Regions from separate parts of the Homo sapiens genome. Here all the other regions are linked to region 2. The links are contacts of gene promoters, found by promoter capture Hi-C in blood cells and fetal thymus (Javierre and others, 2016). All regions are on one chromosome and are shown on one strand. Each heading gives the region's core, a stretch centred on a gene start or on the middle of the fragment in contact. The rest is flanking DNA. Distances are from core to core; before and after follow the strand shown.

Region 1 (3,717 bases), core at 459-2,958, 420 kb after region 2:
GACCACTGGAGGCTCTGCCTTGCTGGGCTTAGAGTCTGAGGGTGTCTGGGCAGGCTGCCCACACTCTCTGGGTCCCAGCTGCCCCCTCTGCACTGTCCCAGATGGGGCAGGTGGCACCTAACTGCCCCAGCTCCCTGACTCACGGCAGGCTGTCTGTGACCCAGTTATCCCATCGGGGATTCAGCCCCATCCCACCCCATCTTTGCCTGATCTGGGGCTTCCTCTCCCCTCCCCCAAATACCAGCCTGTGACTGGACCCCACGTGGAGACCCCCAAACTTCTTGGTACCCCAGCCGACTTAGTCTAGGTTGGGGTCTCCAACTTGGTTCTTCGGTCCCCACCGCCACCCCTGGGGCTGAGGTGGGTAGCGGGCAGCCTCCCCTGCACTCACCTGCCTTGGCCATGGTGAGGAGACCCACACAGAAAACCAAGATGTGGCCAAGAGACGCCATTGTCCTGGGGGGGACACCACGGATTAGGCAGTGTGTGCCCTTGCTCTCCCACATAGGGCTTGAACCCAAGGGATTAAGTCAGAGACAGTCTGGGGACTGAATCACAGAAGTGTTTGTCCTCTATCTTGGTGGCTCCAAGCTAGAGAAACGGGTATCCCCAGCTTCGTGGGGACACAGTGTCACCAAAACAACCTCCACGATGGGATCACACAACAACACAACGTAGCAGGGACGGGGGTGAGACACACAGTCCCCGGGGGGCCTCCCTTGGGCCTCCACCTCCCGCAGCAGGCCCCCGATTCCCAGACCTACCCTGGCAGGGCAGAGGAGGCGCTGCCTCACACAAACACAGAGCAGGAGACAGCAGGGCACGCCCAAGTCCCACCTGCCTACATGCCCGGCCTCACTGTGCCCCGCGAAATCCCAGCTCCCTGCCCTCTCCGCCCGCCCGCTCGCGGCCTGACCCCGGGTATAAATATCTCCCACTTCACCCTGGAGGAATTCTGCTCGCTCAGGCCACCATGGCAACAGCCTGCCTTCCCCCACTCAGGGGGTCACGCACAGCCCTGCCGGGGTGAGGCCCAGCTGCCACATCGCCACAGGCTGCCCCTGTGGGAAAGGTCACCCCGTCTCCTCCCTGGGCAGCAACGAGAAAAGGAAAAGACAGCCCCTCTGCCCGCCTCTGGGTGACATCTTTCACAATCGGATGTCAGGCAAGTGACATGAGGCCCAGCCCAGTGGGCCTTAGAGATAGAAAACACATGCTGGGGCAGGGATACACACACACACACACACACACACACACACACACACACACAGTGGGGCCGGAATGGACATGAACAACAACCTCTCCCCAAACTGCTGGTTGGAGCAGGACGTGGGGTGTAAACACCGTCAGGCATCCAATACTCCTCCTCTGGGCCTCCGGTGCCCCCACGCAGTGACGCAACCAGCCCTACACACGTGTGTGTCCCAACTCCACACCCTGCCAGGGTGCACACGCACCAGCAGGGCAGGGAGGAGTCACCCACATCCCACCCTGCAGAACCCACTGCCTCAACCACACTCCCTCCCTCTTGGGTTGGCCTGCCTGGGAAGCCTCGGGCTGGCCACTCCTGCTCCCAAAATAGGCGGCCCAGCCAGACCAGGGGTGAGGCCTGGAGGGAAGGAGTGGGGGACGCTCACCCCAATCGGGCTGTCCCCTGCTGAAAGAAGGCCCCCAAACGTCCTGCTGTGCCCCGGGGGCTGAGCACTTTGGACCCCCTGGCCCAGAGCTGGACGCGCCGCCCCCAGCAGCCTCCCCTCCCAGCCCCACCCCACCCATGCCCTCCCCAACCAGCAGCTGAAACTGGAGCTGGGGCTGGAGGGGGGCCAGGGGGCGGCCCCCAGCCCAGACTGCCCTGGCCCGCTTGGTTAACTCTCTCAGTTCAGAGAGAGCAGCAGCAGGCAGCCAGCAGGCAGGCTGGAGAGGCTAGGAGGATTGTGGAGGACAGGGTTGTGAACACACACACACACAAACACACACGCCTCCAAGAGCTTTTGGGCTGAGGCGGCTGCCCCCTGGGAACTGGGTCCAGCCAGGGCCGAAGGTCACCCAGCCTGACTGCCCAGGAGCCCACTGACCCCCGATCCCAGTGCTCCGTGAGGTCCTTAACAGGGCTGTTTTAGAGGACGGGAGGGAGGTGTGTGTGTGTGTGTGTGTGTGCGCGCGCATGTGCGCTATCTGCTGTGGTGAGATCCCCAGAAATGCACCACACACACACACCCACACACAATCCCAAAGACCCAGATATACAGGTACAAAACCAGACAAAACCATGTATGTATGTACATCCATAGAAGCAGACACACACAGAATGACACACTGATAGAGAAACCCAAAGACCCGGACACACAGCCAACACCTTTTATGCCAGTCACAAAATACCAGAACAAGCACATTTATGTCTACACAGACCCACGCACGCTCATGTAGATGGATGGCCACACAGAGATACAGTCAAAGACATAGCCACATCACCATCTACACTCACAAACTGGCCACAAAAATGCATGTTTATGTGAAGACCCACCCACAAATGGCCATACAGAAACACACAAGTATGTGCACACCGCACATAAATGCATTCTAAGATGCATGGCCAAACATGGCCAGGTACGGTGGCTCACACCTGTACTCCCAGCACTTTGGGAGGCCAAGGCGGGAGGATCACTTGAGGCCAGGAGTTCAACACCAGCCTGGCCAACCCGACGAGAGCTCGTCTCTACTAAAAAAATATACAAAAATTAGCTGGGTGTGGTGGCGTGCGCCTGTAATCACGGCTACTCCGGAGGCTGAGGCAGGAGAGTCACTTGAGCCCGGGAGGCAGAGCTTGCAGTGAGCTGAGATCATGCCACTGCACTCTAGCCTGGGCAACAGAGCGAGACTCTGTCTCAAAAACAAAAACAAAACAAAAAAACCCCAAAGGTACAGACATGCAGCCAGCACTCCTACATGGTCCCAAAGATAGGAAGGCCAACAAGCTTGTGTACACACAGACAGATTTCCATGGGCACAGATACACAAGCAGAAACACCATCAAGGACAACCCGCCGCTCTCACACATACCCACAAAAGCAGAAACACACACACTGGTTCACACCCTATGCTTGAGCAAACAGGCACATGGTTGGCCACGGTGACAGATGCGCAGGCTGACACACTTGCATGTTCACACATTCCAAAACCACAGATATGTATTTAACCCCACACTTTCCTTCCCCTGAGCTCTTGTCGGGGACAACACACCTGGCGTCCCCATGGGCAGGCCAGGTTTACAGGTCCTGGTGACAGGGAAACCTGGAATGGCCCAGGCACTGCACTCCTGGTTGTGTGAACTTGAGCAGCTCTGTGCCTCATTTTCACATGCTCCAAAATGGAAAAATCACTAAGATCACGTGTATAATCCTGGACAGGGCTCAGAGGTCTCTGAACTTGACATTGTCTTATGATTAACTTCATTTTTTGTTTGTTTGTTTGAGACCGGGTCTTGCTCTGTCACCCAGGCTGAAGTGCAATGGCACAATCATAGCTCACTGTAGCCTCAACCTCATGGGCTCAAGTGATTCTCCCACCTCAGCTTCCTGAGTAGCTGGGACTATGGGCGTGCGACACCATGCCTGGCTAATTTTTTAATTTTTTGTACAGTCGGGGTTTCTCTATGTTGCCCAGGCTTGTCTTGAACTCCTGGCCCCAAGCGATCCTCCCACTTCAGCCTGCCAAAAT
Region 2 (4,123 bases), core at 258-2,757:
AGAAGGACATTGCCAGGGCAGTTATCTTATCAGGCGCACGCTCACCTGCTCCTGGAGACACGCTCACCCCATAACATACCAAGGTCCCCACCATTCCACTGGCCCAGCCCCTCGCTGCTGCTGCCCATGGAGGTCCCTACCTGAGGGATGAGGAGGGAGTCCCCAGGCCTCCTGGCATCTGTCACCCAACACCAAGATCAAGCCAAGACCCTTGGACACATCCTTTCCCCATGTTGCACCTTGGTTTCCCCATCTAGGGTAGGGACGGGGAATGGTTGAGAGCTGTAAAGTCTGTAGCTGGATATGTGAGTCCCTGTGAGCCTCAGTTTCCCCCTCTGCACAACAGGAATGATAGTTCTGCCTGCACAGGGTTTTTTGCAAAGACCCGTGAGGTCACACGTGCAGAGCCTGGCATGTGTGTGGTGCTGCTGCAGTGAAGTTTGGGTTTTTCCATTGGTGGTGCCATAGAAGAGCTAGGCTCTGGGGTCAAGCCCTGGGGTCAAGCCCGGGCTGGAACCCTGTCCCTAATTCTTAGACGTTGAAATCTTCTGCAAAGTCCCTGATGGGGGCTAAGAAGAGAATATTGCTTTACAGGGCTGCTGTTAGATGCTAAGGAAACCATTTGAGTGACACACAGAGCACACCCAGCCCATAGTGAATAGTCAGAGTTCAGTAAACATTCAGCCACCATAGAGAGTGTTGTAAGCATGGCAGGGCATGGTGGCTCACGCCTGTAATCCCAGCACTTTGGGAGGCCAAGGCGGGTGGATCACCTGAGGTCAGGAGTTCGAGACCAGCCTGGCCAACCTGGTGAAACCCCGTCTCTACTAAAAGTACAAAAATTAGCTGGGTGTGGTGGCATGTGCCTGTAGTCCCAGCTACTCAAGAGGCTGAGGCAGGAGAATCACTTGAACCCGGGAGGCGGAGGTTGCAGCGAGCTGAGATTGCACCACTGCACTCCAACCTGGGTGTCAGAGTGACACTCCATCTCAAAAAAAAAAAGAAAAAAAAAAAGAGTGTGGGAGCACCCTCCTCTTCCAGTTGATCAGGCACGTGCTATTTAGACTGAAAGAGGACACTCTGCAGCCAGCTGATCTGGTTCTCACTCCATTATGTCCTAGCCTGTGATGGAGCCATAGGAGAATGACTCAACCCCTCCATGCCTCAGTTTCCCCATCTGTAAAGGGTCTTGTCCCCTCAAAGGGTTATTGGAAGGTTAAATAAGTTAGCACATGGAAGCCGTCAGCACAATGCCCAGCGCATAATGAGCACCTTATGTTTGCTCTTCTTGTTGCTGCAGCGGTTCCCAGGGGCTCCCTGATCTCAGGGCAGGTTGACATGGGGGGATCTGGGCAGGGGAGGGGGGGGCCAGCCCAGGAGGGAATGCCTGAGGTGCCCAGGCCTAGAGGTCACCCCAAGGAGCCTGTAATCAGCTGTGGTCGGGCGGTTCTGCTCCACCCCACCGCCCTCCCTGGGTATATCAGGACTGGTCCGGGCCCAGGCTCTGTTGGGTGGGAGCACAGGCACCGGGCACCATGGGGAAGGCCGTGAGTGGGGCCCAGGGGTCCGGGGTGCAGTGGGGACAGGGGTTGCAGTGGAATCTGAGTTCTCCCTCCCTCCATCCTGTCCATTCCCAGGAGAACTATGAGCTCTACTCGGTGGAGCTGGGTCCTGGCCCTGGCGGGGACATGGCTGCCAAGATGAGCAAGAAGAAGAAGGCGGGTGGCGGGGGTGGCAAGAGGAAGGAGAAGCTGGAGAACATGAAGAAGGAGATGGAGATTGTGAGCTCTGACTGGGGAGGGGCGGGAGCTGGAGGGTAGGCTGGGAACCAGGCAGTGGGCGGGGAGGGGGCCAGGAGAGCCCAGAGCAAGCACCCTGCCCCACCCCACCACACAGAACGACCACCAGCTGTCAGTGGCGGAGCTGGAACAGAAATACCAGACCAGTGCCACCAAGGTGAGCTGGAGACTGGGAGCGTACAGAAAGGGGAGGAGGAGAGAGGGAGGGAGAGGGAGATGGAAGGAGGGAGATGGAGAGAGGGAGAGAGAGGGAGAGATGAAGAGAGGAAGATATGGAGAAATAGAGAGAGGGAGGGAGGCAGAAAAGGAAAGAGGGAGGGAGGGAGAGAGGAAAGGATGGAGGGAGGGGAGGAGAGAGGGAGGGAGATGGAGAGAGGGAGAGAGAGGGAGAGGGAGAGAAGGGAGAAAGCATTAGAGAGAAAGGGTGACACACAGAGACGGAGAGAGGAGTAGCTGAAAAGAGACAGCAAGACAGAGAAGGCAGAGACAAATAAGGAGAGAGCAGCAGGAGAGAGACACATAGAAAGGGGAGCGAGGAGAGAGAGACAAAGGGAGAGATGAAGGAGGGAGGGAGAGATGGGGTGGGGGCAGGAACCAAGAGACAAAGAGATGAGAAGGAGCAGGACAGACCAAGCTGGAGAAGGGAAACTGAAGCAGGGGGCTTTCCACGGGGTGTGCATGTGGAGGAAAGCCCCCAGGACCGCCTCGCCCTGCCCCTCTGTCCCAGGGCCTCTCTGCGAGCCTGGCTGCTGAGCTGCTGCTGCGGGATGGGCCCAACGCACTGCGGCCACCACGGGGCACCCCAGAGTACGTCAAGTTCGCGAGGCAGCTGGCCGGGGGCCTGCAGTGCCTCATGTGGGTTGCCGCCGCCATCTGCCTCATCGCCTTTGCCATCCAGGCTAGTGAGGGGGACCTCACCACCGACGACAATGTGAGCCATGTTGTGGGGACAGGCTCAGGACATGGGGACCTGGGGATGGAAGACACTGAGCCTGGGACTTGGGACAAGAGGGGCAGAGAAGGATGGGGATAGACGAACACGAAAGGCAGTCTCAAGACAGGGGTCATGGAGGGTGAAGGACATTGGGATATGGATGGGGCAGACCCAAGGACACAGGACACAGGGACACTGGGGTGAATCTTGGGTATGGGGACATAGGTGGGGGCATAAAGAGTATGGCAATGTGATACGTAAGAGATGGGATTTGGAGGCCGGGCGTGTAATCCCATGCCTGTAATCCCAGCACTTTGGGAGGCCGAGGCGGGCAGATCACCTGAGGTCAGGAGTTCGAGACCAGCCTGGCCAACATGGCAAAACCCCATCTCTACTAAAATTACAAAAATTAGCCAGACATGGTGGCGGGCACCTGTAATCCCAGTTACTTGGGAGGCTGAGGCAGGAGAATCATTTGAACCCAGGAGGTGGATGTTGCAGTGAGCCAAGACCATGCCACTGCACTCCAGCCTGGGCGACAGAGCGAGACTGCATCTTAAAAAAAAAAAAAAAAAAAAAAAAAAGAGATGGGACTTGGAAGCAGAGGACATGCAGTGCAGACACAGGACAGACTGAGGCACGGGGAATAGGAGACCCTGGGACTCAGACATAGGACACCAGGGCAGGGACCCAAGCCTCAGGACACAGCACATAGAGAGACACAAAACATGAGACATAGAAGCACAGAGACAGAGAGGAAATGGAGGTGCAGGGCAAGGGACATTGGACATATGGCAGAGATGAGGGCAAGGGACATGGGGACTCAGGGACATGTGACATGGGACAGAGGCTCGAAAAGTCATGGCCATGGGACACAGGATGGGAACTCGGAGATACACAGACATGGGAGACACGGGACACAGTGACTGGGGAGCTAGAACATGGGGGCCGTGGCCACAGAGGACACAGACCATGACGTACAAGGTCTGCAGCACACGCAGGGACGGGGATGTGAGGATGCAGGGACAAGGGGGCCCAGGGGACACACAGAGGGTGGCAGCAGATTATGGAAAACCCAGGATGTGAAACTGGAGACACGGGGAATACAGGCCATGGGGACAGGAGGAGACATGGGACAGTGGACATGGGGAATGCAAGGCTTGGGGACACAGGAGAAGGGAACACGTCAGACCAAGGCACACAGTGATTTGGGGCACAAGTCACAGATATGGGGACATGGAAGATTGAGGATTCAGGGCCAGAGGATATGAAATATACACAGAAACACAAGACACTGAGAAGACAGAGCAGGCGAGTGTGGGACATGAGGGACATGGGAGGGGGCTAAAGGCTACAGGGAATGGTGCATGGAGCTTCCTAGTAGGTGGGG
Region 3 (4,072 bases), core at 902-3,401, 400 kb before region 2:
TGAGGCAGGAGAATCGCTTGAAGGTAGAACCTTCAAGCTTGAACCTCTACCCGGGAGGTAGAGGTTGCAATGAGCCGAGATCGTGCCATTGCACTCCAGCCTGGGCAACAAGAGCAAAACTCCTTCTCAAAAAAAAAAAAAAAAGAAAGAAAGAAAGAAAAAAAGTCTAGATGTATGGTAGCCCAGAGGCTCAGGTGGTAGCCCCTGTGATGGCCCCTTGTCCTTTGCTACAGTCAAGTCCTAATTTTGCCACAGCCAGAGTCTTTAAGCTTGGTTTAGTCACTGTCACCACCTTGAGCCCCAGCTTGGCCATGAGACAGTTCTGACCCAGACACAGATACTGTCTTGGTTTTGGACATGGTTGTAGACAATGGTTAGCTATGGGTTTGGTAGGTGGTATAGGTGCTGGTTCAGCTACAGCCAGAGTTGCAGGAAGTGGTTCTTTCACAGTCACAAGTCGAGGCACTGGTGCGGCTGCAGCTACAGGTTCAGGGCAGGGTTCATTTACGGTCACTTGTGCAAGCCCCAGATGAGCCATGGCCACAGGTTCAGGCTCAGGTCCCCCCAGGAGCACAGGCACAAGCCTTGGCTCAGCTTCAGGTGTGTTGTTTGGTCCTGATGCAGCCACTGCCATGGTCTTAGAGCTGAAGATGGACGGTGTTTTGGAGTCCTGCCATCTTGGAACTGGACAAGGTCTCAGACTCACATGTGACCTGAGTGGTGGGCACACATTTAGGCCTTTTTCATTTATTTATTTATTTAGATTTTAAATTACTTTTTTGTTTTTTGTTTTTTTCTTTTTTCTTTTTCTTTTTTATTTTGAGGCAGGGTCTGGCTCTGTTGCCCAGGCTGAGGTGCAGTGGTGCGATCTCAGCTCACTGCAACCTCCACCTCCTGGACTCAAGCCATCTTCCCACCTCAGCCTCCTAAGTAGCTGGGACTACAGGTGCATGCCACCTGGCTAATTTTTGTATTTCTTGTAGAGTCAGGGTTTTGCCATTTTGCCCATGGTGGTCTCCAACTCCTGAGCTTAAGTGATCCACCCATCTCTGCCTTCCAAAGTGCTGGGATTACAAGTGTGAGCCACTGTGCCCAGCCACACACTTAAGTCTGTGCTTCACAAGCTGACATGTGGTCCCATCAGAGCATGTATGGCCCTCACAGGAGACCTGGAACTGGAGTGGCATCACCAGGGAAGACTAGGAGGGGATGGGACTCTATGAAAGGGCTCACTTCCTCCTCAGTCAAAATATTTAGAGATGAGATGAGGGAAGGATGCAATATAATTGGATCCTGGAATTTAGCCTCATCCCCGACCTGCCTTCATACCCCGGGCCTCCAGGGTCCCTGGCACTGGAAACTCAACATTCAGAAGCTATCAGTGTTCCCAATTTAAAATAAACTGGGTCTGTATGTATCAGCAGAAAGAAAAGAGTGGGACTGAGGGACAAAATGATCAGCACGGCCTGGGTGTAGAATAGGTCTGTAGGGAGCTCGAGAGCACAGGCTGCATCTGAAGACAGCCAGATTCAATTATGTGAGCATCTCTATGCCAGTGCAAATGTATGGTGCATTGATTCTGGCCATCGAGGACTTCAACTTGCCACATTAAGCAGACTTGAGGGTAGGATGTGAGAGTGTGTGTGTGTGTGTGTGCGCGTGTGTGCGTGCGCATGTGTGTATGCTGTGGGGAACTGGAGACATATATTCCTTCCTTCTTCCCAGGAAGGGATGTTATTTATTCATTGCTATCAGTGCACGAAGCTAGCCACCTACAAAGTGAACTTTTTTTTTTTTTTTGAGACAGAGTCTCACTCTGTCACCCAGGCTGGAGTGCAGTGGTGTGATCTCAGCTCACTGCAGACTCCACCTCCCGGGTTCAAGAGATTCTCATGCCTCAGCCTCCTAAGTAGCTGGGATTACAGACATGCACCACCACATCTGGCTGATTTTTGTATTTTTAGTAGAAATGAGGTTTTGCCATGTTGCTCAGGTTGGTCTCGAACTCTGACCTCCGGTGATCTGCCCACCTCGGCCTCCGAAAGTGCTGGGATTACAGGCATGAGCCGCCACACCTGACCCCAAAGTGAACTTTTAAGAATAATCTTGTGTTCTGTAGAACTTTGCATATTTTCTATCACAATGGAATATAGAAAAAAAAAGATGGAATATAGAGTTTTCGTATGGACTGAGCTAGAGTGTCAGCTCCCTGAGGGCAGGGATGTTGTCTGTGTTGTTCACTGTTGCATCTGCAGTGCCTAGAACAGGCCTAGCCTGAAGAAAATGAAAAAAAAATTGCTGCAAAGTAATACTGGCAAATATTTACTGCATGCCAGACAGTGTTCTATGAAGTCATTTAAAAAACGCTGGCAGGGTGCAGTGGCTCACGCCTGTACTCCCAGCACTTTCTGAGGTCAAGACAGGAGGATCACTCAAGCCCAGGAGTTCAAGACCAGCCTGGGCAAGATGGTGAGGCCCCATCTCTACTTTTTTTTTTTAATTAAAAAAAAAAGGCTGGGTGTGGTGGCTCATGCCTATAATCCCAGCACTCTAGAAGGCCGAGATGGGCAGATCACCTGAGGTCAGGAGTTCAAGACCATCCTGGCTAACATGTGGAAACCCCATTTCTACTAAAAATACAAAAATTAGGTGGGTGTGCTGGCCTGTGCCTGTAGTCCCAGCTACTTGGGAGGTTGAGGCAGGAGAATCACTTGAACCTGGGAGGTGGAGGTGTAGTGAGCCAAGATCTTGCCATTGCACTCCAGCCTGGGCAACAAGAATGAAACTCCATCTCAAAATAAATAAATAAATAAATAAATAAATAAATAAATAAATGAATAAAAATAAGGCCAGGCGCGGTTGCTCATGCCTGTGATCCCAGCACTTTGGGAGGCTGAGGCAGGTGGGTTACTTGAGGTCAGGCGTTCAAGACCAGCCTGGCCAATATGATGAAACCCCATCCCTACTGAGAATACAAAAATTAGCCAGGAGTGATGGCAGGCACCTGTAGTTCCAGCTACTAGAGAAGCTGAAGTGGAAAGATTGCTTGAACCTGGGAGGCGGAGGTTGCAGTGAGCCGAGGTTGCGCCACTGCACTACAGCCTGGGCGACAGAGTGAGACTCCATATCAAAAATAATAATAATAATAAATAAATAAACATAAAAAATTAGAGCCAGGTGCAGTGGCTCATGCCTGTAATCCAAGTGTGTTGGTAGGTCAAGGTGGGTGGATTGCTTAAGCCCAGGAGTTTGAGACCAGCCTGGCAACATAGCAAGACCCCATCTCTATTTCTATTAAATAATAATAGGAATAATAAATAATTTAATTTAAAATGCCACAACAACCTTATGATGTTCATACTATTATCCACCTTTAATAGAGGGGAAGTAGATAGTCAGAGAAATGAATTGACTTATGCAGAATCACACAGCTTGGAGCAGGATTTGCATCCAGGACTCTTGGCTCCAGAGTCCAGCTCTGAGCTGTTATAAATAAATGAATTGAAGTCCTTGTCTTCATTTCTAAGAAACCCAGCCTCTCTCTCTCAGCATTCCCTCACTTTTCTCTCATCTCCCTGGTCTTCCGTTGTTTCTCAGGACCGTAAGAGGTTGAATGGGATTTCAGGGTTACAGGAAAAGCCCAGGTCCCGCAGCACAGTGTGTTCAGAACCATGGTCAGCGTCCAGTCTCGCTGAGTCTTCGCCGAGCGCGGTGCCCTCTGAGACAACATGCCTGTTTCCCAGCAGCCCAAGCAGGCTTGGGGTTCAAAGCTGACATCTGTTCAGCATGTGGCCTTGGGCAGTGATTTCATGGCTTAAACCTTCAACTGTCTTCTCTATGAAATGAGGATAACAAAAAGACCCATCTCCAGGATGACTGTAAAGAGAACATTATATAATGTATGTACATTATTTATAAAAGCACTTGCCACTTAGCACATAAGTCTAGACTACTTTATAAGTCTTTGCAAGGTGGTACAAAACACAAAACAAAACAACACCCCCCACAACCAAAAAGGTGGTTAAAAGCTTGCACTGTGGACACAGACAGACCTGGGTTCAAATCCAGACAC
Region 4 (3,807 bases), core at 210-2,709, 290 kb after region 2:
GAGCCGAGACCACATCATTGCACACCAGCTTGGGTGACAGAGCGAGACTCTGTCTCAAAAAAAAAAAAAAAAAAAAGAGAAAATTCAGAAGCGAAACCTGCCAGGACTGAAGGAAGAAATGGACAAATCCACAAATATAGTGAGAGACATGGACATCTTTCTCATTGATTGGTGGAACAAGTAAACAACAACAACAAAAATCAGAATAGAAAGCCTGAACACTCAACCAGCCTGACCTCACTGACCTGGGGGGACATTCTGCCTGACAGCAGCAGACACCTGTCCTCGTCAATGCCCCAGAAGCTTCCGCCAAGCTAGGACACATTCGGGCCCGTCGGGTAAGTCTCATCGAATTTCAAGGAACTGAAATCATACAGAGTATGTTCTCTGACCATAACAGAACTAAATTAAAAATCAATAACAAAAAGATATCTGAAAAACCCACAAATATTTGGAAATTAAGCAACCTGCCTCCAAATAACAGAAAGGTCAAAGAAGAAATCACAAGGAAAATTGGAAAACACTTTAAACTGAATGATAACAAAAACAACATATCCCAGTGGGATGTAGCTAAAGTGATGCTGGAGTGAACTGGCAACTCTAAATGTTGTTAAGCAAAGAGAAAGGTTAAGAATCATCTCAATCCCTGCTGTGAAACATTAATCCTGTAAAATAAAGATTTTAGTAGAAAATTGGAAAAAAAAAAAAAAAAAGAATTACCTTAAAAAGCTGGGGTTGGGGTGTGCCAGGGAAGCTAAAGCATGAAACCTAGCAAATTGAATCCAAAGTGAGTAGAAGGGGCCGGGTGCAGTGGCTCACTCCTGTAATCCCAGCACTTTGGGAGGCTGAGGCAGGTGGATAACCTGAGGCCAGGAGTTCGAGACCAGCCTGGCCAACATGGTGAAACCCCGTCTCTACCAAAAATACAAAAACTAGCTAGGTGTGGCAGCGGGCACCTGTAGTCCCAGCTACTTGGGAGACTGAGGCAGGAGAATCACTTGAACCGGGGAGGCAGAGGTTGTAGTAAGCTGAGATTGCGCCACTGTGACAGAGCGAGATTCCATCTCAAAACAAAACAACAAACAAACAAAAAACCAAGTGAGTAGAAGCATGAATTAGTAACATTAAGAGTAGAAATCAATGAAACGGAAAAAGCAATCTAATCTGGCACCTAAAAATCAGATTTCACATAAGTCTCGATTTCTAGCTTCTCAGAGTTTCTGGCAACAGTGGCCCTAGATTCTGACAGGGCAGCAAGGGGAAGGCACTGGGCAAGGGCCACCCTTCAGGCAGCGCACACATGCCCCAGATCACTGGGGGCCCCCCACAACCTTTCCTATCTTTTTCTGACACAAGGTCTGGGTCTGTTGCTCAGGCTGGAGGGTAATCTCAGCTCACTGCAACCTCTGTCTCCCGGACTCAAGCCATCTTCCCACCACAGGTTCCCAAGTAGCTGGGACTGTTACAGGCATGTACCACCAGGCCTGGCTAATTTTTAATTTTTTTGGTAGAGACAGGGTTTTGTCACATTGCCTAGGATGGTCTCAAACTCCTGGGCTCAAGTGATCCGTCCGTCTTGGCCAAAATGTAATCCCAAAAGTGCTGGGATTCCGGGCGGGAGCCACCACACCCAGCCACACACCCCTTCCTGAGATGCCAAGTGCACCTCCCTCCCTCAGGCCCCTGCAGGCATTTGAGTCTGTGACTCTGGGATAAGCTCCTGCAGTACCAAGAAGTGGTGGGAAGGAGGGAAAAAGAAGTGAGAGAAGCGGATCTGAAATCACCACAGAAGAGAAACTTGGGGTTTGTGGCCATAAGGGAAGAAGAGGGCAGAGTTGAAAGCGGCTCTGGTCTTAGTTTCTGGCTTGGGCAGCTGTGACAGGGGTAGCTTTTGCTGCTCTGCAAAGAAGAAGGTTGCATGAAAGCCTTTGGAGACGGGAGATGGCACATTCTCTTTTGGGCGAGTTGAGTTTGAGGCATTACAGGGATGTCCAGAGACAGAAATCTCGAATAGGTAGTTCAAAACGTGGGGCTGGAGTTGCAGTGAAAGGAAGGGAATGGATGGAAACACAGTTCCTTGCATTACCAGGAGCCAGGTGGTGGGCGAAGCCTGGGAGGACATCAAGGAACAGTCCTCAACTTTTTGTGAGTCACACACTCTTCTGCAGCAAAGAAAAAAGAGGAACACCTACAAGGGGGAACAGAGTTTGGGGGATACTGACCAAGAGCTTCCGAGCCCATCGCTGGGCCTCACAAGTCATACACCTGAGGCCGACGGGAGGGGCCGGACCTTATGAAACACCAGCAAGACTGGGTGTGGCAGCTCAGGCCTGTAGCCGAGGCCGGAGGACTGCCTGAGGCCAGAAGTTCAAGACGAGCCTGGGCAGCATAGCAAGACCTCCACTCTACAGATAAAAAAAAATTACCCCATGTGATGACGCCTGCCTGTGGTCCCAGCCACTCAGAAGCCTGAGGTGTGAGGATCGCTTGAGCCTGGGAGGTCAAGGCTGCAGTGAGCTGTGATTGTGCCACTGTACTCCAGCCTGGGTGACAGAGTGAGACCCCCTTCTCAAAAAAAAAGAAACACTCGCAGCCAAAGCAGTTTCTCAAGCTTGTCCACTATGACAAATCACCTGAAGAGCTGATGGAAAACACAGATTCCCCGGCACCCCCATCTACTCACTTGGAACTGGGACAGCCCTGGAAATTTCACTGTTAACAGTGGGGTAGGAAAGGCAAAGATCACAGGAGAATCAGAGAGGATGGAGGAGAAAGGAAGATTCCAGAAAGGAACAGAGGGAAACAGGCAGCATCAGATGCTTGGAGCCCAGACAGCAAAGGAGGCCAGTGGATGTGGCAATGGGGTCACCACGGGTGACCGGAAGTGGAGCTGTTTTGGTAGAGCCATGAGCCAGATGGCTGAGGGTACTGGGAGGATGAGCAGATTGGGGCAGATGCTCTGCAAGTCAGGAAAGCGGAGACAGGACGGAGCTGGAGAAGTGGGCAGGTGATGAAGACTGCTTCACAGGGTGAGAAAGTTTCAAGGCTGCCTGGAGTCAGATTAACTAAGGGAGAGGCGGGGGTGAGAGTGGGGTGGGAGGGTTCTGAGTCCTCTCTTCGCCTTACTGTGTGGCCACCAAGACTCACTGCATCCCCACCAGGTGCCCGGGGCGGCTGTGCTTCCACCATTTCACAGAGGGAAGACAGGTACGGAGATTAAGAACCACCCTGACGCCCCACCACAGGTAAGTCGTGGGGCTGGGGCTGCTCTGGGGGCCCCTCAAACTCACTGCATCTCAAAACCAAGCTCAGATGCACCCCTTCCCTTCCAAGCATGGAGGGGAGTTCAGCACGAAACCCTTATTCTCCAGCCTTGGAGTCCTCCCCACATTTCCCCCAACCCCTGCCCTGTCTCAGGCCTGACAGTCGTATGGTCTCCTACCTCCCAGCCCCTTCCCACCACTCTTGCCAACAGCCTCCACAACCCAAACCCCTCTGCTGGCTTCTCATCACCCTGGAATAAAACCACAGGAGCCCAGACAGCCACACTGGGGACTTCTTCCAAGGTCCTCCACCATCTGGCCTGGGCAGCCCCCTCCACTGCGCCAACTTCCTCTTTCCTTTCCTGAATTCTGCTCTTCTGCAGACACACCATGGCGGCCCTGGCTCAGGGCCTGGCCTGTGTTCTAGCTCTTCCCTCTGCCCGGGACTCTCCTGAGGTTCTCAACAGGCCCCTTCCCTCAGGTCGCTTCAGGGATCTGCTTCAATGTCACCTCTCGAAGAGCCCTTCAGAGCACACTACCATGC
Region 5 (3,716 bases), core at 803-3,302, 480 kb after region 2:
TCAAAGGAAGGCTCGGGAGCATAGGACCACAGTTGGGTCAGTGTTGCTTGGCACATAGTAGGTGTTCAAATACGTGAAAAATGTTGATTTTTTTTGATATAGGGTCTCACTCTGACCCTCAGGCTGGATGCAGTGGCACAATCATGGCACACTGCAGCCATGAACTCCTGTGTTCATGCGATCTTCCCACCTCAGCCTCTTAAGTAGCTGGGACTATAAGCTGGGACTATAAGCGTGCGCCAACACACCCACCTAATTCTTTTTTAGATACGGGGTCTCGCTATATTGCCTGCTTGAGACAGGCTGGTCTTGAACTCCTGGGCTCAAGGGATCCACCTGCCTTGGCCTCCCAAAGTGTTAGGATTACAGATGTAAGCCACCGTACCAATACATGTAAAACATTTTTAGATGAAGGAACAAGGACATAACTATAATAGTGACCATCTCTTGTTTTATCCTGTTCTGCATTCATTTCTCCTTTCTCTGGATTTCCCTGAGAACTCACCCCTCCAAAATCAATCCATGTGGTTCACAGAAAGTCAATCCTATCCTAACTTCCAGCACATGACCCAGGCCCAGCCAATCAGCTAGTCCATCAGGGATTCAGGGGTGGTCACATGACTCAAGCTGGGCCAGTGAGGGACACTTTTCCTCCAGTGACATTTGCTAACCTGGCAGCTGTCCTTGTCCCTACAAGGTGGGATGGGATGGTGCCTGTCTGAAAATGAAGGAAAGGAGAGCCCAGAAATTGAGACAGATTTGAGACATATTGTTCAAGCACCTGGGTCCAGCTATGCCTGAATCCATACACCTGTAGATTTTTTTTTTCAATTGTGTAAATCAGTAATTCTTTTTTTTCTTAAGCTGGTCTGAGAGTGTTTCTGTTATATTAGCTGAATGCATCTGATGGATATAGTCAAAAATGGGCATATAATCAGAAAATAGAGGTAAAATGTAGAAATAATGGAGACAGAATAAGTTTTTCCCTTGGGCCTATGGGTTTGGGTGAAGGGTTGGGGTTCCTAGAAACGACACGTCCCAAAGCTGGTGCTTATCTGAGCCATGCCTGGGCTGTCCCTCCGCAGGTGGACCTGGGTCCCATTAACCTGGACAGACACCTCCAAGATGAGCATGAGGGGGCTGCTGGATCTGTTCTCCTTTCACAGCTGTATCCTGAAGAATGGCAGTGAGCCGGAAGAGCCACAGGATTCGGCAAAGACGGACACACAGGTACCTGAGAACTCAACAGTTTTCCCATCAAAGGTGATGATGTGTGAGTGCCCGGCTGCTTGGCAGGTGCCAGGGGAGAATGGGTGGCACCCAAAGATGCCCCTTAGGGTCCCACATCTCTGCCCTGGCCCACAGGAGGAGGGGGAGCAGCACACAGCATGGGTGGAAGCCTCGCAGTGGCAGAATTGCTCACAGTGCTCCCTAGCCCAGAATGGCTCCCCGGCCAGGTGGTATCTGCCCCCCATGGAGCAGCTGCACTGGATGGGGGTCAAGCAGTCCGTGCCACTGAGCACAAATCCTGGGTCACACTGGCAGCCATCCTGGCATGGTGTCAGACAGCTGTCGGGCAGGGCAGGCTCGGTGCAGGAGCTGGGACAGGAGAAGCCACACAGCTCGTAGTGGCTGTCGGGGGGCCAGGTCAGCTCTGGAGGAACACAAGTCATTCAATGCAAGGATGTCAACTCACTGCCCCACGTTCAAATTATGTTCCCTGCTATCTCCCCAGAGCCCAGCTCACGGCAAACCTCAATGGATATTTGTTGGAAGAATTAATGAATGTGTCGAAGCCTTTTCTATAGCACATATTTGTTCAACTTTGGCATCCACTACATGCCGGGAACATCCCAGGGCCTGGGGACACAGCAATGACCAAGACAGAGATCCCTGACCTCATAAAACAGATGTTCTAGGGCAGACGTTGACAAGCTTCACCCTTGGGCCCAAATCTGGCCCTCCACCTGTTTTGGCACAGCCTACAATCTAAATAGTCTTTACATGTTTAAGTGGTTAGAAAAAAAGAAACCAAAAGAGGAAATTTTGTGAGGTGTGAAAATCATGTAAAATTCAAATTCCGGTGTCTATAAATAATGTCTTCATGAAAGCCAGCTCGCCGGTTCGTGTATTGTCTATGACTGTTCTTATGTTACAACAGAAGCTTTGAGTAGTTGTGGCAGAGTGTGGCCCTGAAAGCCTAAAATATTTATTATCTGGCCTTTTATCATAAAAGTGTGCTGGCCTATTCTAGAGGGGGGAAATGGGCGACAAACTAGCAATAAATAAAAGATAATTTTGGATTGAGAAACTGGGTTAGATCTGTGTTACCCAGCTTTAGGTAGCGCAGAGTGGCTGAGCCCCATGGGCTGATTTGAGGACAGTGGCTAGGGAGGCCTCTCTGCAGAGGTGACATTGGAGCTGAGGCCTGAATGATGGAAGGAGCCAGCCGTGTGTACGTCTGGGAAAGAGCATTCCAGGCCGGGGGAACAGCAGATGCAAAGACCCAGGGGTGGGAAGGCATTTGGCGTGGTCCAGGGACAGCAGAGAGGCCAGTGTGGCTGGACCCTCGGTGTGGAGTGAGCTAGACAAAGCCAGTGTAGGAGGAGGCAGGGTGAGCAGAGAGAGGCCGCTGTGGGGGCCTCTTAGGAGGAGGCTTGGAGGTCAGTTTTCATCCCAGAGGTAAGGGGGACCCAGGGATGCTTTTAATCAGGAATCTGATGAGATCTGACCTATGCTTTTTCATTTTTTTTATGTTTTTGAGACAGAGTCTTGCTCTGTCACCCAGGCTGAAGTGCAGTGGCACCATCTTGGCTGACTGCAGCCTCCACCTCCACCTGGGTTCAAGCGATCCTCCCGCCTCAGCCAGTGCACACCACCACACCCAGCTAATTTTTTTTTTTTTTTTTTGTATTTTCAGTAGAGACAAGGTTTCACCATGTTGGTCAGGCTGGTCTTGAACTCCTGACCTCAAGTGATCCACCCACCTCGGCCTCCCAAAGTACTGGAATTACAGGTGTGAGCCACTGTGCCCAGCCCTAACCTATGCTTTTAAATGCCTTATGGTAGGTTCTGGTGACACACTGGTGACCAAGAGAGACCCCATCCCTAACCCTTGTCTTTGGGGGTTTCACAGATCAGGGGAAAAACATACTGGAGGAGAGATTGCTGGGGAGGGTTTTGTGTGTGTGTGTGTGTGTGTGTGTGTGTGTGCGCTGGCGGAGTGGGGGTGTCCCCCAGTCTCAGGATTAATAAAGAAAGTCAGAAAAGGAGAAATGTCCTGGGTGGGATGTGGGAGATATTCCAGCTCAAAGTTCATCTTAATTTGAGCACCCAGAGTCTGGGGGCTGGAGGAGACACCTGCACCCTTCCTGGATGGGTTTCCTGGATTCCTGCTGCCTGGAATGTCCCCCCGCCTCCCCGCTCCCCCAGCCAGCTCGGCTCCCTTTTCCACCACCTTCAGTCTCCACTCCCAGGGCACCTCTCTGCACCCCAGGGAACCCTAACCCCCCAGTTTAATACTGCATGCCCCTTCTCCAGCACTCCCCAGCCCTGCCCCGCCTGACTTACTGTTTAATCACCTACTTACTGGCTGGGTTGACTGATTGTCTTCTCCACTGGAATGTCGCCTCCATGAGGGCAAGGTTTTGTCTGTTTGGGTCACTGCTGTGTCTGCAGCGCCTAGAATGCTGCCTAGCACTTAGTGGGTGTTCAGT
Region 6 (4,022 bases), core at 930-3,429, 400 kb after region 2:
GATTTTTGGGTCAGGAAAGTTGAACTGGTAAGTATAATGCAAATATTCTAAAATCTGAAATCTGAAAGTCTCCTGGTCCAAAGCATTTTGGATAAGGAATACTCAACCTGTACTCCCCAGTCACTCTCTAACCCTACTTTACTTTTCTTGATAGCAAGTTGAAATCAACTGATACATAATTATGATTATTTCTTGTTGTGTTTCTCTTACCACTAGAATAGTAGTTCCATGAGGGCAGAGATTTTTTCTGGCTTGTTCACCACTCTATCTCTGTCCCCTAGAACTAGCCTAGCACACAAGTACTCAGTGACTATTTGTTGAATGAATGGATGAATGGGCTCTCTATGTGACCCATGGGCGTATCATTTCCATTCATTCACTGGGGGGCTGACTGGGCAGGAAGTGGTGGATAAGATCACCAGGGAAAGAATCAAATTGCCCCTAGAAACAGAGGTCCTTGCTGACCCACAACTGACCTCAGACGCATGAGTAAGTCCAGCTGAAACCAGAAGAACCAGCCAGCTGAGCACACCCTAGATTTCCAAATTGCAGAAATGAGAGCTAAATAAATGGTTATCCTTTTAAGCCACTGAGTTTTTAGGTGGTTTGTATGCAGCAATAATTTATGCATTCACTTATCTATTCAGACATTTATCATGTGCCCACCCTCTGCCTGGCTTGAAGTCATTTACTTTCCCATCACGTCTTTACTGAGAACTATTCTGTGCTGGGCTGTACTCCAGGTGCTGGAAATACACAGTGAACAGAAAATAGCCTGTTTCCAGTCTGGGGAGGCAGTTACTAACCAGATGGCTTGAGGGTCTGGGGGTCTGTCTGGACGTCTGTGCTTGGGGATGGTCTCTCAGAGAGCGTCGTGGTGTCATCAGTGGGATGAGCTGAGAGAGTGGCCAGATCAGTGGAGGGCAGGAGTGAGCCATGGAGGCAGAAACAAGGGATATTACTGAGAGTCTGCATCTGGAAGAAACCCCTCTCCCACATCTACACAGCTGGTGTGCAGGGTCAGGCATCCCCCCTACTCCACACCTAGAGGCAATAAGTAATGACAGGCATTGAAATGCTGAAATAAGCACATAGCCCCGGTTGCGACTATCTGATCTGCCTCAATCCCCGAGGGACTCCAGACCCCTCTCCTAGGACCTTCTGGCCCACACTATAATCCAGGAGATAAAGGAACGAAAGGGCAACACCTGCCAAGGACTCTGACCCAGCTACATAGTCTGGAGAAACTTGTAAAACATTCTGAATATTGGCTGGGTGCAGTGGCTCATGTCTGTAAACCCCAGCACTTTGGGAGACTGAGGCGGGCAGATCACCTGAAGCCAAGAGCTCAAGACCAGTCTGGCCAACATGGTGAAACCCCGCCTCTACTAAAAATACAAAAATTAACTGGGCCTGGTGGCACACACCTGTAATCCCAGATACTTGGGAGGCTGAGGCAGGAGAATTGCCTGAACTCGGGAGGTGGAGATTGCAGTGAGCCAAGATTTCGCCACTGCACTCCAGTCTGGGCAACAGAGCAACACTCTGTCTCAAAAACAACAACAACAACAAAACTATTCTGAATATCACCTCTGCCCCCAGACCGAAAATACCAAAGGATTCTTCTCTTGAAAAAAAAAAAAAAATCAGTACCTCCAAAGAAAAGGCCTCCCCCAAGCACTGAGAAGTGCCCCCACACCACATCGGAGGCCTCAACAAGAAGCCAGCAGACAGAGAAGCTCCCTCGTGAAACCCAAGTTCCCTGGAATTATCTCAGTGCCCCACACCCTAAATAGGAACTGGCAACCAAGGATTACAAGATATTCAGGGAATGCATTGCCCAGAGGAAGGTATAAGCCAGATCCACGGCAGAGACCACAGGAATGCGAAGGACAGCCATACTGGTGTGTGGTGCTCATGCACCCTGGGGTGAGACAGTCTGGACTCAAATTCCGGTTCTGCCACTCTTGGCTGTATTGCCTAGGGCAAGCTGAGTAACCTCTCTGGGCCTCAGTTCCTTTTCCTGTAAAATGGGAGTAATGACAGTTCCCACCACACAGGATGATCACAAGCATCAAATGACTGAATACACAGAAGCTTAGCACAGTGCCCAGCATGAACAAGCTCTCAGCAAAAGTCAGCCATTGCTATTACTGTCTGCTCAGCACTCTTCCTCCTTCTGGAACAGCTCTCCCTTTCTTTGTGGGAAGACATTGCCCTCCCTTCCCCAGTTATAACCCAGGCTACAAAAGGAAGCTTGTGACCTCAGTCTGGTCCTTCCCTGAGACCTTTGAAATCCCAAGTAGGGATATTGAGTGACAGCTAGGTACTATAGACTGAATTCTATCCACCCCACCAAATTCCATGTGATGGTATTTTGGAGCGAGGGCCTTTGGGAGGTAATTAGGGTTAGATAGGATCATGAGGGTGGGGCCCTCATGATGGGATTAGTGCCCTTATAAGAAGACACCAGAGAGCTTGCTTTCAAGCTCACAAGCCCACCCACACATGGAGAGGACATGGTGAAGACAGAGCAAGAGAATGGCTGTCTGTGACCCAAGGGGAGCCCTCGACAGACACCAACCCTTCTGGCACCTTGATCTTGGACTTCCCATCTCCAGAACCGGGAGAAATGAATTCCTATTGTTTAAGCCATCCAGTCTGTGGTATTTTGTTATCGTAACCTGAGCAGATTAAAACCCTAGGTGAAGTCTGGAAGTTTTGAGCTAGGAGGCTCAAATAACATGAGCCATTTCCTTCCTAGGTGGAAGAGAAGCAAAGATAGAGGAGGAAGAGAGGCCCTGGGGGCTTTCATGCCCAGCCTCTAGGCAACCCAGAGGCTCAGCAGTGACAGCCATTTGTCCTTGATGAATTTCTGTCACATATATCCAGGAACATGGACCAATACATAGAGCAACTCAGGTCAGCAAAGACTCAGTAAATTAATGCAGTGATGTGAGAATGCTTTATCATTGATAAGTGTGGACACAGCTGCTATCCCCCACCCCTACAGGTGCACTTTTGTACAAACTAGAAAAGTTCCCTTCTGTAAAGCACTTTATTTCCATCCATTGTAGGATTGTTTTAATAGATAGATTCTGTAAGAATGAGATGCTTTGCTGCTATCACTAGAAAACTGGAACAATTATAAAGACCGACAAAGGGAATGGCATTGCCCGAGAGGTGGTGCTCTCGTTCAGTACCCAGTCTGCACAACTGTACATGTCTCTCTGGGAGTGGCCTACTCTACAACACTTTCCAGTGTGGGGCTGCCCCTCAAATAAGGATCATCACGCAGGCATTAGAGGCGATCTGTTGCCTTATCTCAGCTCAGTCTCCTTTCCCACACCTTCTGGTAATACTAACTCACTTGTCCAAAGGAAAATCCCCTCTTCCCTGACTCTTGGTCTATGTGGTTCAGGCATGGCTGGCTGAGCCTCTTCTCTAGCCCCAGGGTGGGGCACAAGACTCAGGCCTGACCAATGAGAGCAGCTCATTTCTCAGGCTCTCATTGGTTCAGACATGAGCATGTGACTCCAGCTGAACCAATGAGAGTCAATTCTAGGCCTCAGGCTAGAAATAATGGGAAAGATTTTGTTCTCTAGCCACCACGTATGTGACCTAAAGTTAGAACTATGGGACCATCTCTGCCATCAAGAGGGGAGAAGTTAGTAGAGAATGAAGACAACAGAACCAAGAGAGGGAACAAAGCACTCATGACAGTGCTTACTCGCCTTGATCCAGCTATGCCTGAAGTTGGCTACTTCTGGACTTTCCAGAACTTATATAGCCAATCATTCTTTTGTGTGTGTGTGTGTGTGTGTGTGTGTTTAAGGTGAATTTTCTATATTTTGCAACTGAAAAGCTCCTGCTCTAACATTAAGGAGATGTACAAAAAAGAAATATCCACAGGCACATTCTATAGCCCCAGCCCTCCGAGGGGAACTGACAGAAAGAAAGTTCCAAAGTCTATCAGTTAGGGAAACACTGCATACTGCACGCTGCCCCTTGGGGATCCTTTG
Region 7 (4,052 bases), core at 731-3,230, 430 kb before region 2:
GTAGCATTCATTGTGGAAGCAGCCACAGTGGTCCTGGGACACACAGTCTGTGCCATCAATGGTGAGGCCACGTTCATAGCTCTCATAGCATCGGGAGGAACAGTGAGCGGGGTTGGCAGGCAGGACACACCCCAAATCATAGGTCTGTGCACAGATGCTGTAATGGCCTTGGGGTGGGCAGGTCTGTGCTGCAGGCAGTTGGCAAAGATAAATGCCTAGGGCTCAAATTTCTTTTCTTCTTCTTCCTTCTTCTTCCTCCTTCTTCCTCCTTCTTCCTCCTTCTTCCTCCTTCTTCCTCCTTCTTCCTCCTTCCTCCTTCCTCCTCCTTCTCCTAGTCCTTCTCCTCCTCCGTCTTCTTCTTCTTCCTTCTTTTTCCTTCTTCCTTCTTCTTCCTTCTTTTCCCTTCTTCCTTCTTCTTCCTTCTTCCTTTCTTCTTCTTCTTTTTTTTTTTGAGATGGAGTCTCCCTCTGTCTCCCAGGCTCGAGTGCAGTGGTGTGATCTCCATTCACTGCAACCTCCACCTCCAGGTTCAAGCAATTCTCCACCCTCAGCCTCTCAAGTAGCTGGGACTACAGGTGTGTGCCACCACACCCGGCTAATTTTTGTATTTTTAGTAGAGACACTGTTTTACTATGTTGGCCAGGCTGGTTTTGAACTCCTGACCTCAGGTGATCCACCCACCTCAGCCTCCCAAAGTGCTGGGATTACAGGCAGGAACCATCGCGCCCAGCCTCAAATTCCTCTTTCCAATCTCATCGCCTCTGCCCCTAGTCAGCCTGGCTTCCCATTGGTATTTCCCCACCTCCACACCTTTGTAGCTGCAGTTCCCTTTCCCTTGGATCCTCTTCCCACACATTCTCCTCCACCAATTCCACCTATGCTAGGAATTCTTCCTGGACTCCCACCAGGGGAAGGGGCTCTTCCAGCCAACCCATAGTCTGCCCTGCCTGCACCCCAGACCAAGCCAGAGCACTTATGGCAATGCTTGGGGCCCCTCCAGGGCATCACAGGGTTCCCAGGCTCCTGGCTGCTGCAGTATGGCCTGTGAGAGTGTCACAGAGACCACGGTGCTGGCCACTGGGATGACACGCATCCTGCAGGCATATACTAAGGAAGGGCTTGTTGATGTGGGCCACACAGTGGTTAAAGGGGCCATCCGGCACATGCAGGAGGCCACACAGTTTGGGAGCTTTGAAGATCTGGGCAAGTCATGTGGGCAGCTGACATGAAAGCCATGGTTGGGCTGGGTCAGTGGGCAGTGGATAGTGATCAGGCCCTTGGACCAGGACACGGTATCCAGAGGCAGGTCAAGTAGGCCAACATTGCCTCCAAAGGACCCATGGAGCCCCGCCAGCTCGCCTTAGAATTCAGAAGGCACCATGAGCTTCCCCAGGTGTACATGAGATACAGCCCACAGGCCATGTGCACCATGGCATGGTGGCCCTCCAAGGCGGCCAACCCCAGCCCCCTGGCAGTGCCCAGGGCAGCCAGTAGTGCTCACCATCCACCTGCAGGGGAGGTAAGGGGTCAGGACTGGGGCTGAGGAGGCTGAACCTGCTCCCATGCCTCCCTGAAACCTGGATGTCCCTCCTCATTGCGCCACAAATGAGGGTGAGACTTGGACAAGGGACTTAGCCTTTCTGAACTTCAGTTTCTGTGTTTGTAACATGGAAGGACAAGAGTACCTACTTCAGGCTGGGTGCGGTGGCTCATGCCTGTAATCCCAGCACTTTGGGAGGTTGAGGTGGGCGGGTCACTTGAGGCCAGGAGTTCGAGACCATCTTGGCCAACATGAAGAAACCCCATCTCTACTAAAAACTCAAAAATTAGCCAGGTGTGGTGGTGCAGGCCTGTAGTCCCAGCTGCTCAGGAGGCTGAGGCAGAAGAATCGCTTGAACCTGGGAGGCAGAGGTTGCAGTGAGCCAAGATGGTGCCATTGCACTGCCTGGGCGACAGACTGAGACTCCATCTCAAAAAAAAAAAAAAGAGTACCTATGCTAGGCATATGGTAAGTGCTTCATGACCCCTGCTAAGATCGGCCAATGCCAACCAACCCACAGACACATGAGTTAGGAAGCTGCCTGGGGTTAAGTCACTAAGATTTTGAGGTTGTTTGTTATGCAGCATTAGCTGACTGATACAGTTGCAATAAGGATTAGATGAGATGGTTCATGAAAATTCCTCAGAACAGTGCTGAGCACATGAAAAGCACTAAATAAAACACTAAATTGGCCGGGCATGTTGGCTCACATCTGTAATCCCAGCACTTTGGGAGGCTAAGGCAGGAGGATCCCTTGAGCCCAGAAGTTTGAGACCAGCCTGAGCAACATACTGAGACCCCATCTCTACAAAAATTAGGATGGCATGGTGGGGCATGCCTGTAGTCACAGCTACTCCAGAAGCTGAAGCGGGGGGATCACTTGAGCCCAGGAATTTGGGGCTGCAGTGAGCTGTGATCACATGACTATGCTCCAGCCTGGGTGACAGAGTAACATTCTGTCTCCAAAAACAAAACAAAACAAAAACCAACCAAACAAAAAACATCATAGCCAGTCACTAGCACATTGGTAATATGTGTTCAACATTCTAGGTGAGGAAAGGAATGACTTACCAAAGTATCAATTCCACCTTCTCTCTATTGCTTAAATGATCACTTATCTCTGCTTTGTAACCATCAAGAGTCTAGATTACCATCATTCATTTCCCGACCCTGCTAATAACCTGTTACCTTTTTTTTTTTTTTTTTTTTGAGACAGAGTCTCACTCTGTCACCTAGGCTGGAGTGCAGTGGCGCAATCTTGGCTCACTGCAACCTCCGCCTCCTAGGTTCAAGCAGTTCTCTGCCTCAGCCTCCCAAGTAGCTGGGGTTACAGGCACGCACCACCATGGCCAGCTAATTTTTGTATTTTTAGTAGAGACGGGGTTTCACCATCTTGGCCAGTCTGGTCTTGAATGCCTGACCTCGTGATCCACCTGCCTTGGCCTCCCAAAGTGCTGGGATTACAGGCGTGGGCCACCGCACCAGGCCATAACCCTTTATCTTGTCTCTACTCAGTCATGCCTGTCCTTCCTATACTCCATCCCCACCATCTAGCTGACTCTGCTAAACACCCTTATCTTTTTTTTTGTCTTTTTTCTTTTTTCTTATTTTTTTTAGACAGACTCTTGCTCTGTTGCCCAGGCTGGAGTGCAGTGGCACGATCTCGGCTCACTGCAACCTCCACCTCCTGGGCTCAAGCAATTCTCCTGCCTCAGCCTCCTGAATAGCTGGTACTACAGGCATGCACCACCACTTCCGGCTAATTTTTGTGTTTTTAATAGAGACAGGGTTTCACCATGTTGGCCCAGGCTGTCCTCGAACTCCTGACCTCAAGTGATTTGCCCGCCTCGGCCTCCCAAAGGGTTGGGATCACTGGAGTGAGCCACCGTGCCTGGCCTAAACACCCTTATCTTTTAAAGACATACACTTTTTAATTTTATTTAATTCTTTTAGAGACGAGGTCTGGCTCTGTTGCCTAGGCTGGAGTGCAGTGGCGCCACCATGGCTCACTGCAGCCTCGACCTCCTGGGCTTAAGGATCTTCCTACCTCAGTCTCTTGAGCAGCTGGGAACACAGGCGCGCACCACCCCCCCCCCCCCCCGCCTAATTTTTAATTTATTTTTTTGAGCCCGGGAATGGTGCGGGCCAGCAAGGGAGAGCACAGGGGCGGAGCGCGGGGGCGGGGGCCGCAGGGGCAGGGTACCAGACGGTGCCCAGCGGTGGGTGTCCGCCTGCAAGGAAGCAGCCGCATTCGGCTGCGGGCACTCAGAGGCGCCGCTCAGCGGGAAGCCCTGGCCGCATACTCAGCGCTCCCGGCAGGGCTGTCACCCGCGCATGTGGCCAGGTAGCGCGCAGCTCAGCGCGAACGCAGCGGGCACCGCAAAGCTGGGGCGGGCCGCGGGGGTGGGAGGGTCAGGGACAGAGACAGAGAGAGGTGGGGGAGACATAGCCAGGGTCGGATGGGGGAGGCGGAGATGGAGGATGCCCGCAGAGAGCAGCACGGGTGTGCCCG

What was found. Contacts are between HindIII fragments. The CHiCAGO score rates a contact against its expected background, and 5 or more counts as called.
Region 1: the fragment with the promoter of FXYD1 here is called in contact with the fragment with the promoter of ATP4A in region 2 in 12 of 17 cell types (neutrophils, non-activated CD4 T cells, total B cells and 9 more); the score reaches 16.7 in neutrophils.
Region 3: a contact is called between a fragment that was not itself captured here and the fragment with the promoter of ATP4A in region 2, in 1 of 17 cell types (M0 macrophages). The highest score is 5.5, in M0 macrophages.
Region 4: a fragment that was not itself captured here is called in contact with the fragment with the promoter of ATP4A in region 2 in 1 of 17 cell types (erythroblasts); the score reaches 5.5 in erythroblasts.
Region 5: a contact is called between a fragment that was not itself captured here and the fragment with the promoter of ATP4A in region 2, in 11 of 17 cell types (M1 macrophages, total B cells, M0 macrophages and 8 more). The highest score is 7.8, in M1 macrophages.
Region 6: a fragment that was not itself captured here is called in contact with the fragment with the promoter of ATP4A in region 2 in 5 of 17 cell types (monocytes, neutrophils, activated CD4 T cells and 2 more); the score reaches 7.4 in monocytes.
Region 7: a fragment that was not itself captured here is called in contact with the fragment with the promoter of ATP4A in region 2 in 4 of 17 cell types (erythroblasts, M0 macrophages, M1 macrophages and 1 more); the score reaches 8.1 in erythroblasts.

The regions. Positions count from the first base shown.
Region 1 is chr19:35,136,815-35,140,531 of GRCh38, reverse strand. It overlaps FXYD1 (FXYD domain containing ion transport regulator 1), which reads right to left and starts at 1,708. Exons shown (of 8, transcript NM_021902.4): 1 at 1,638-1,708; 2 at 392-456. The coding sequence starts at 452. The HindIII fragment of the contact is 25,239 bases long and covers 1-2,977 here.
Region 2 is chr19:35,561,042-35,565,164 of GRCh38, reverse strand. ATP4A (ATPase H+/K+ transporting subunit alpha) reads left to right here and starts at 1,507. Exons shown (of 22, transcript NM_000704.3): 1 at 1,507-1,547; 2 at 1,638-1,781; 3 at 1,897-1,956; 4 at 2,527-2,730. The coding sequence starts at 1,536. RefSeq lists an enhancer at 1-352. The HindIII fragment of the contact is 9,853 bases long and covers 1-4,123 here.
Region 3 is chr19:35,963,351-35,967,422 of GRCh38, reverse strand. It overlaps LOC105372383 (a long non-coding RNA gene), which reads right to left. Exons shown (of 5, transcript NR_136525.1): 5 at 3,353-3,876. Among named protein-coding and RNA genes, the nearest start is that of LRFN3, 29 kb to the right of the region's middle. RefSeq lists silencers at 3,569-3,769, 3,519-3,819. The HindIII fragment of the contact is 3,759 bases long and covers 272-4,030 here.
Region 4 is chr19:35,272,339-35,276,145 of GRCh38, reverse strand. The region is part of intron 7 of USF2 (upstream transcription factor 2, c-fos interacting); the gene reads right to left. Among named protein-coding and RNA genes, the nearest start is that of USF2, 5.3 kb to the right of the region's middle. The HindIII fragment of the contact is 2,308 bases long and covers 306-2,613 here.
Region 5 is chr19:35,084,470-35,088,185 of GRCh38, reverse strand. HPN-AS1 (HPN antisense RNA 1) reads left to right here. Exons shown (of 4, transcript NR_024562.1): 3 at 1,086-1,230. It also overlaps the pseudogene LOC100420797. Among named protein-coding and RNA genes, the nearest start is that of HPN-AS1, 20 kb to the left of the region's middle. RefSeq lists enhancers at 1,698-1,807, 1,918-1,967, 3,254-3,716. The HindIII fragment of the contact is 229 bases long and covers 1,938-2,166 here.
Region 6 is chr19:35,161,030-35,165,051 of GRCh38, reverse strand. It overlaps FXYD5 (FXYD domain containing ion transport regulator 5), which reads right to left. Exons shown (of 9, transcript NM_014164.6): 6 at 807-896. Among named protein-coding and RNA genes, the nearest start is that of FXYD5, 8.3 kb to the right of the region's middle. The HindIII fragment of the contact is 159 bases long and covers 2,100-2,258 here.
Region 7 is chr19:35,987,084-35,991,135 of GRCh38, reverse strand. No RefSeq gene overlaps it. Among named protein-coding and RNA genes, the nearest start is that of SDHAF1, 6.1 kb to the left of the region's middle. The HindIII fragment of the contact is 4,649 bases long and covers 1-4,052 here.